Regions from separate parts of the Homo sapiens genome. Here all the other regions are linked to region 1. Evidence: promoter capture Hi-C in 16 types of primary human blood cells and fetal thymus (Javierre and others, 2016). All regions are on one chromosome and are shown on one strand. The core of a region is centred on a gene start or on the middle of the fragment in contact, and the rest is flanking DNA. Distances in the headings are between cores, read along the strand shown.

Region 1 (2,766 bases), core at 161-2,660:
AAATTAACCTCTGGGTATAGGTTTTAATAACTGCCAACATTTAAATAGGTGAAATTAGAATTTTATTCTTATTTGTGTTTTGTAAACTGCCTGATAATGACAGTTTCCCACTTTTCTACTGTGAAGGAATGTTCAATTTTTTTCCTTTTAACTGTAAGAGTTTTGAAAATATACCATAGATATTATGCATTTGCCATAAATATGTTCCTATTTCCAAAAATATGAGTGCCAAGCGCAGAATAATATGGGAACTTAGCTCAATACACAATGCCACACACAAAATATTATATTAAATCACTTAAGTAAAAAGACTTTGTAATCAAACATAGGAAACTACTTATGTGACTCATATATTTGTATTACTATAATAATAAGAAAAATAATTGCCTCATTGTTCATTGGAAAATCGCTATCATTGTGATCTATATGTAAAAATTCCAATACACAAATCACATTCTGAAAAGTTTATATCTACTGTTTAGGCCTTTCCAGGCTCTCCATATAAGCAGAAAAAACCACTGCTACTGGTTGTCAGTTTCTTCTTTTAGAGAACAAAGAAGTGTTTTAAACTAGAGGCTTCTGAGTCTTCTTCTAGTTCTAACATTTTCAAAGTCTATGAGAGGGCTTCATGCTAATAAGGCTAATATGCTGAAAGGGCCTTACCAATATTAAGTTTCAAAGGCAAGAAATAGCCTAAGCTATGAGCCACAGTTCATATTACATGAAATGGTTGAGAAGCTCAAAATACCGAAATGACAGATAGTACTTTGGTTAACAGAGAAATGGTTTTATCCTGAGATTGCTGCTAATACAGAACTCCATTGTATTAATATATACAATAGTTAAGATGTGACACTGGAAACCTCTGATATGACTTTTGGCAATTAAAAGATGCAAGAGATTAGAACAAGCAAGCTGAACACAAGTGCAAGCTTACCTGGAATATTACCACGCGGAATTTGTTTTTCTTCATTATTTCCTCTTGCTTGACTTCAACTTTTTTAACATGAATTTGTTGCTTCTCCACCCGGGCTTTCACATCTTTAATGTGAGCACTAACTTTTCGGGTTTTCTCAAACAATTTGTTAATGATATGCCCTGTATTGCTATGCGACTGTGAAAGCTTCAACAGGTCAATCTGGACGGATTTTATGGCATTTTCCATTTCCCTGTGTCTCTCTTCTATTCTCTTCTGGCTTGCCTGCACACTGTCCACGATGGAGGCTACTTTGTCCAGCACAGTCACAATGGTAAGAGCAGCGTCTTGGTCTTCATCTTCTGTAACACTCGACAGGCGATTCTGGTGGATTTTATCAGCATTTGAAGCAGACCCATTATGTTCCATTTTATTTATTTCTCAGCGTAAGATGTCCTAACCACAATCAATTCTGGCACTTGGAGCAAAAAGTCAGCTTGATAACAGGCAACAGGGTTGTTTAAAGAGTTGGAAACCCCACCCCTAGAGAACGGTCAAGTATTTATAACTACAAATACCCATATGTGACTGTTCTGCAATCTGAACCCTTGCAAAGCACCGGGGACTGTTCCAAACATGCTTGCTGACTGACTAAGGGACTCAAATAAGACTGTGTGGGTAGAAGAGTAAAGCTTTTTAAAAAAGTTCACTAAAGCCACCATGTAACTAATATTAAACCTAGAAGCCAAATGATCAAAAAAGCAAACTCCAAATGTTGGGTAAAGCTTTTGCCTTTAGATAATTTCAATCAGTATTTGTAACAGTAAAGGGGAATTCTGAACCGAAATCTGCTTTTTCTACTAATTTCACATATTAAATATACTGAAACACCAATATCAAAAAATTTGGTAAATAAACACACCAAAACAGAGGCCATATAGTGAAAACATTATATTATAACATGCTTTTCCAAACAAAATATTAAAATTAATAATTTTTAACATATTCTTTAAATTCTACATGCATACTTTTGAATATCTAAACTACATGTTAAACAGCTGAATACATTCTACTCACACTTCAGATCTTTAAACACCAACAATCTATGAATATTAATCTATTACTACAGGACAAATTTGGATATACGTCTTGGATAAATTTTAAGCTCACTTTAAGAGCACCAATCATTAACAATCATTTTTGTATTTTATTCACAAACACTGATACGATTTGTTTATTTATGTTAAAACAAACATTTTCTTTAAAAATGAATGTGTATTAAAGTAGTTTAACTGGTAGAATAGGCTTTATTCCAATCTGTTTGTTAAACAGCCTATTTTCACAATATCTATATCTACTTTTCATTGATCTGTTCCATCATTACTAACATATTTGTTCAAATTATTAGGACTATTTTTTCAAAGGGAGGAATAATCAAATTCCCCAGTCCATATATCTTATAAATATTTTACACCTAATACACACAGCTTTACAGTTCATGCGATAGGCAGTGTCTAAAAAATCAGTTACTAAATCTCAAAAACATTTAAATATCTATTTAAACACAGTGTCTTCTAGATTTTTTTTGTAAGAAAAGTAATCTGTAAACATCTTTACCTTTAGTTCATGCTTGGTCATTTGCTGTGGTCATTGTGGAAGAAGTGGATATGACTTTATAACCATTTGTGAAGTAGTCCATCTTTGCAAAAATATTACATTCCATGGGTAAAGAACAAGTCTTAGAATTACCATGTGGTACAAATTTGTGAAAGCAATTTCTGTATTTAAAAACATAAAACAAAGACTACTAAACAGTCCAAAACTGTCGTAGCTGAATATTCTAAATACGA
Region 2 (2,766 bases), core at 87-2,586, 1.4 Mb after region 1:
CTGGATTTCATAAAGCAGATCTGGTAGGCTTAGAAATGGCCCAAAAACAACAACAAAAAAAAAAAAACAAAAAAAAAACCCCCACAAAAAAAGTACCTGATCACAGAATTAGAGATTATTATTAAACAAGTAATACAACACAACTATAAAAACAAACCTCTCAAACTCATTCATTTGCTTCAATGAAATTATGGTAACTACAGAAAAAAACTCAACTTTGTAGTCAAAATAGTAACCTCTAAGCATTTTTCCCATGATGTTTTTAAACACATGAAATTGACACTAAATTCCTATGTAATATGTCACTCATTCTAAAATTACTTTGGTTTTAAGATCAAATAGTCTTTCAAATTTATTCTACGTATAAGAGATAAGACATTATCAGAATGCAACTCATTCAGTGTAAATGGCCACTTTCTCTTCCTGACCAAAATACTGTATGGGTTACTCTGACCCTGTATCGGGGAACTGATAGCACTATAAAGTCGAAGTCTTGCCTCAGAGCTATGATAGTTTTTTCTCCCCTCAGAATAAGATCACAGTGATAAAAGGACTTCGAAAACTGTAAAAGCCCTGCAGAGACTTCATAGCATTGGAAGTAAAAACCAGTTATTATAAGCTAGTTTCAACTTAATGTAAGAAGACCATGACAAGTTTGCTTTCAATATTTGACCAAAGACATCTGTAAATGGAGAAAAACCTATACTCAGAATGTTCTTTAGCTACCACCTCTCCCAAGTAACAAGGGTGCACTGAATGCATTACATAAATTACATGTAAGCAGTTGCAATGTACGCACACATAAGGAAACACTGAATTAAAAGCTGCCTTCCTCAAAGTGTAGTGAGACCTCAAAACCACACTAGCTCTAACCTCAGTTACAAAGACAGAGGATCCACCGAACGTTTACTCCTACATACATAACAAATGTGACTTTCTTGCACATCTGTTATCTATTCAAATTATTAACTACCTTCGCCTTCCTAGAAAAAGGCCTATTATTTAATATTAACCATATTCTAATTTTAAATGTAATTCATGTCTTAAAAAATAAGTCTTTGAACAGATAAAGAAAAAAATGGCTTACAGAATACCACATAACTTTTCACAAGCAGCTAGACAGACTTTCCCTTTTAGAAAAATTAGTCTGTATGCTACAAATATTAAAGTACTATAAGCATCTAGAGTGCCACTTGATTTTTTAAAAGTATACTTAGACAACACAATTAAAATGCAAAAGCTTGATGTGAGAATATTCAAACATGACCATGCTAATAATTTACTAATTAATGCCACTTCATTTCTTTAGTGGCTTAAGCACATTTTGGTAGGAGAAAGGCATTTTCAGAATAGAATACCAAATGACATACCACAAAAACCCTTCCAAAAACAAAACAGAAAAAGTTTGGGTTACCCAGATAAATAAGCTTTTTGAATTCAAACACTATAGGTTTTAACATAGAGACTTTCAGCAATTCTACTCATTTCCATTAGAAAGACACAGAAGTGGCACTTACTGGTATAGTACAATCCCATTTTGAAGGCATGTAATGTTCTGAATAAGTGAAAGAACAATAATAGTATACAAAATACAATTGCATGAATTATGTTCCTCACTACTATATGAGGTCATTTTTAGACTCAAGATAAGAGTTTTATAAGTGTTAGTTTTAAGATCCTGAAAAACTATAGAACAGTACATTCAAAGTCTGAATCAAGGAAACTCTAGTGGTTCAGAATCCTCTGAGAATGTACTAACCAGGAGTAAATCACTTTCTTTAGTAATAAGACATGTTTCATTGTAATTCAGCAATCCAACTCCTTTGCCCTTAAAGATGATCTCCAGCACAGCAGAGTTACCTAAAGTTAAGACCAGCAATCATCTTTTTAAAAAACAAGTTTTGTTAATAAAAAATAAAGGTAGACTACACATTTTCTGTCCTGGGAAAGAAGCGTTCATAGTGCACAGAAAGGACCCACATGGCTGTTTCCTGGGTCCAAAGAAATCCTGGGAAGTTTTTAATTGACTTTATTACACTGCTGCAAAAGGAAGCAATATCCTTCTGTTCCCTCTCAGTGAGGTAGAACAATTGACCTCCCAAATTAAAACCCAGGAGCAGATCTGAAGAAAAAAGGAGAGTTCAGGCAAAGCTGTAGAATTACATTTTGATGCCTTCCTGTTGACTGAGTTGCGATAATGTTTTCTTAATCCGCAATGCTGTAAGCCTAGCTGCTCCATTGGCATACCAACATTCTCTCATAATTTTAGCCATTACTCTCAAGGCCTACAAGAAAATATAAAAAAAAAAATTAATGCATGCACCATTTTCCATTGGTCTGGATAAGAATTTTTACGTGTAAATTTTCTTTTTAAATGACATATACACTTGTTATTGTTTAAGCATTATTTGTAATAGCAAATGAGTAGAAATTACATAAATTTCCATCAATAGGGTACTGGTGCCAGTGCTGGAAAGCAGGTGGACAAAGAGTGACTCATTTAGCAAACCTGAAAAGGCCGAATCCTAAACCAGAGCTGGGCAAAGCAAAGAAGAAATCTGACCTCACACTGAAATTTTAAGTTTGTACTTTGAAGTATTCACATCAAATTTTTCTTTCTTTTTTTTTTTTTTGAGACAGGGTCTCACTCTGCCGCCCAAAGTGGAATGCAATGGCATGCCCTCAGCTCACTGCAGCCTTGACCTCCCAGGCTCCAGCAATCCTCCCACTTCAGCCTCCCAAGTAGATCAAATTTCTAAAAGACAA
Region 3 (2,766 bases), core at 167-2,666, 1.4 Mb after region 1:
ATGGCGGCACTTCCAACGACACAGAAGCCCGGAAGTAGAAGCAGTACAGGGGAAGCTAATGAGCTCATTTTGAGCATGGCAAGCGTGAGATGCCTGCAGGACTCCCAAGTAGGAGGACTCCCAGGTGGTTGATGGAGTCTGAGGCTCAGGAGTTAAATCTGGCCCAGTATAGAGATTTGGGAGTTGTCACTGTCATCATCTTCCTCCTCTTCCCCTTCTTCCTCATCTAGTTGGTAATGGGGCCACAGAGTGGATGAGGCCACCCACGGAGAATATGTGACCAGAAGAGAAGGGGCCAGCACAGAAAATCCTGTGGGGACTGGCAGAAAGAAACGCCTGGGAAACAAAGAGTGCTATCATGGAAGTCAGGAGTTTCAGAGGGGAGGGAGGGAGTGAGTGGGCAACAGCAGAAAATCCTACAAAAAGGTCATATAAAAAAACAAAAACAGAAACCTACACAGTGTCTCCTGGACTTAGTAACAAGGAGGTTGTTTTAAACTTGAGAAAGGCAGTTTCTGTGGGGCAGTTGAGGGCCAAAGGTCAACTATGGAGAATTGAGAGTGGGTGGGAGGTGGGAAAACGCAACCTGTGCAATGTCCCTTTGGAGAAGCTCGACACCAGCTGGAGGACCATGGGGGACGGCAGGGCTGATTTAGGAGGGGCGTCCCCTGAGAGTATGCCCTGTGCTGTGGGGAGGATGCAGGGGAAGTGAGCGAGTGGAGACCTGCAGAGAGACGATGAGCCCGAAGGAGCCTGGAGAGGCGCGAGACCAGAGTCCAGATCCAGATTGGGGGTTGAGGCCAACTCTGCAACCAACTACCACCAACAAGGCAGGCCCTATAGACAGGGCAGGCTGAGCCCCAGGGGGAGGAAGGGAAGCTAAGCAGGCCCCTCCTGGAGGGCTTGAGTTTCTCAGGGAGGGAGGTGAGGTTGTCTGATGAGGACATTAAGGCAAGTCAGGAGGCTGTGAACAGTTGCCCTGGGGAAAGAAGGGTACTGGCCAGGGGTCCCCAGGGCTACCAAATGAGGAGGAGACCATGAGTATGCACAGGAAAGGAAGGCTGGGCTCGAGGGATGCCCAGGGTCAAGTGGGCAGGACCCTCCATTTGCTGGGCTGGGGGTACAGTTGCCACTCAACCCAACTGCACAAGTGGGGAGGGACAATGGACGAAGGCCTTCGGGGCTGCCTGGAGACACCGCAGCTGCTCTCCATTTGTGAGAGGGAGCCCCCTCCTCTCCATCCCTCCCTCTCTCCTCTTAGAAGCATCCCCCTTTCTACCCGCACCCCCAGCCCCACCCCTGCTCCCCGGCTTCATGCAAGTCCACATCCTGAGTGCCTGGCATCAGGCACTGAGACCAGAGAGGACAGAAAGCATGTCACACCCACACACATCGGGCAGGGTGGATAGGAGCCCCCAGCCAGGAGGCCTCCAGCTAGTGTCTGACCCTGGGACCCTGAGGCCTTTCTCAGCCTGTTTCCCCATCTACACAGTAAGAAGGCTGTCCCCAGGAATCCCTAAGTCCCCTGGCCAGTGCAGACATTCTAGAGAGTGAAGATTTCTTTATGAGTGTGTTTTTCATCTGAGCTGCTGGCAAGGGAGGGCAGGGAGATGCGGTGCAGGGCTGAGCTCAGAAACACAGACACAGAGTTAACTGCCGAACTGTCTAAACAAGATCTGAATGGAAACGCTGCCCTGTTAATTAATGGCTGCTTTTGAGGTTATTAAGTTAGACTGGGTAGGTGTGTGGCCTTTCTTTCTACTGCCCTTCCAATTAACAGGCACTTTGCTTGGTAAATGTTAATTTAGAGTAATTGGGCGTGCAGAGGAGGGGAGTGCAGGCGGGGGAAACAATGGTCCCTCTACTGTAGGTTAATTGCTAGTAAACGTTGTTCCCCGCAGCCCTGGTCCCAGATGAGGATGATTAATGGCCATGGAGTACTGGCTGAAACCCTCAGGGGTCAGCAGAGCTGCGGCAGGTTTAACCCCTCAGTGACCATGATGAGGGCCAAATCCCAGTGACTCCTACTGGGTTTATGAGCAAGAGAACTTGAGGTGTGCTCCTCACCTGTGAAAGAGGCTAATGGGGTCGCTTCTTGCAGGTAAGTTAGGAAAGTCAAGCATCAAGTTGGCAAAAAAAAATGCTTCATTCCACTGATAGATGGAATAACTCGTTGCAGCCGTGATTACCCTGGGTAGTATCATCTAAGGAAATAACATTGATTTCCAGAAAATAACAAAACAACAACAACTACAACAAAACTCCAACGCCCCCCACTTAGCCTCTGCTCTCACACAATCTGTTTCAGCCAAGTCAACCTGTGACAGTTTGATGTGTGAACTTGTGAACAGTCCCATATTCAAGCAAATGCTACTCTAGGAATTGCTATGAAAGTATATTGTAGATGGGGTTGAAATCAGTGGACTTTGGATAAAAAAGATTGTCTTGGATAACCAGGGTGGGCCTGATTCAATCAGTCGAGCAGGGCTGAGGCTTTCCTGAAGAAGAAATTCTGCCTGTAGACTGAGGCCATAGATCCTGTCCCAGGGCCCCAGCCTTCCTTTCCTGACGGCCTGCCCCTCAGATTCCGTAATGATGTAAGCCAATTCCTTGCAATAAAACTCTTAATCTATATCCCCATCAGGTTCTTTTGGAACTCTGATTGATACACAGCCCAAAAGTGACTCGGGCTGGAGACAATGCTCTGAGCCAGGCTTCTTTTCCCTGCCTGCCTCTCTCAGAAATGCAAATGAGAGGTGGCTCATC

Evidence for each region. Contacts are between HindIII fragments. The CHiCAGO score rates a contact against its expected background, and 5 or more counts as called.
Region 2: a contact is called between a fragment that was not itself captured here and the fragment with the promoter of CAVIN4 in region 1, in 1 of 17 cell types (total B cells). The highest score is 6.7, in total B cells.
Region 3: a contact is called between a fragment that was not itself captured here and the fragment with the promoter of CAVIN4 in region 1, in 3 of 17 cell types (M0 macrophages, M2 macrophages and fetal thymus). The highest score is 8.4, in M0 macrophages.

What each region holds. Positions count from the first base shown.
Region 1 is chr9:100,576,723-100,579,488 of GRCh38, reverse strand. CAVIN4 (caveolae associated protein 4) reads right to left here and starts at 1,410. Exons shown (of 2, transcript NM_001018116.2): 1 at 938-1,410. The coding sequence starts at 1,345. It overlaps MSANTD3-TMEFF1 (MSANTD3-TMEFF1 readthrough), which reads right to left. Exons shown (of 10, transcript NM_001198812.1): 10 at 1,853-2,766. TMEFF1 (transmembrane protein with EGF like and two follistatin like domains 1) reads right to left here. Exons shown (of 10, transcript NM_003692.5): 10 at 1,853-2,766. The HindIII fragment of the contact is 485 bases long and covers 1,126-1,610 here.
Region 2 is chr9:99,148,699-99,151,464 of GRCh38, reverse strand. TGFBR1 (transforming growth factor beta receptor 1) reads right to left here. Exons shown (of 9, transcript NM_004612.4): 9 at 1-2,285. The coding sequence ends at 2,160. Among named protein-coding and RNA genes, the nearest start is that of TGFBR1, 45 kb to the right of the region's middle. The HindIII fragment of the contact is 187 bases long and covers 1,243-1,429 here.
Region 3 is chr9:99,169,291-99,172,056 of GRCh38, reverse strand. No RefSeq gene overlaps it. Among named protein-coding and RNA genes, the nearest start is that of ALG2, 51 kb to the left of the region's middle. RefSeq lists enhancers at 396-565, 592-1,374. The HindIII fragment of the contact is 5,684 bases long and covers 1-2,766 here.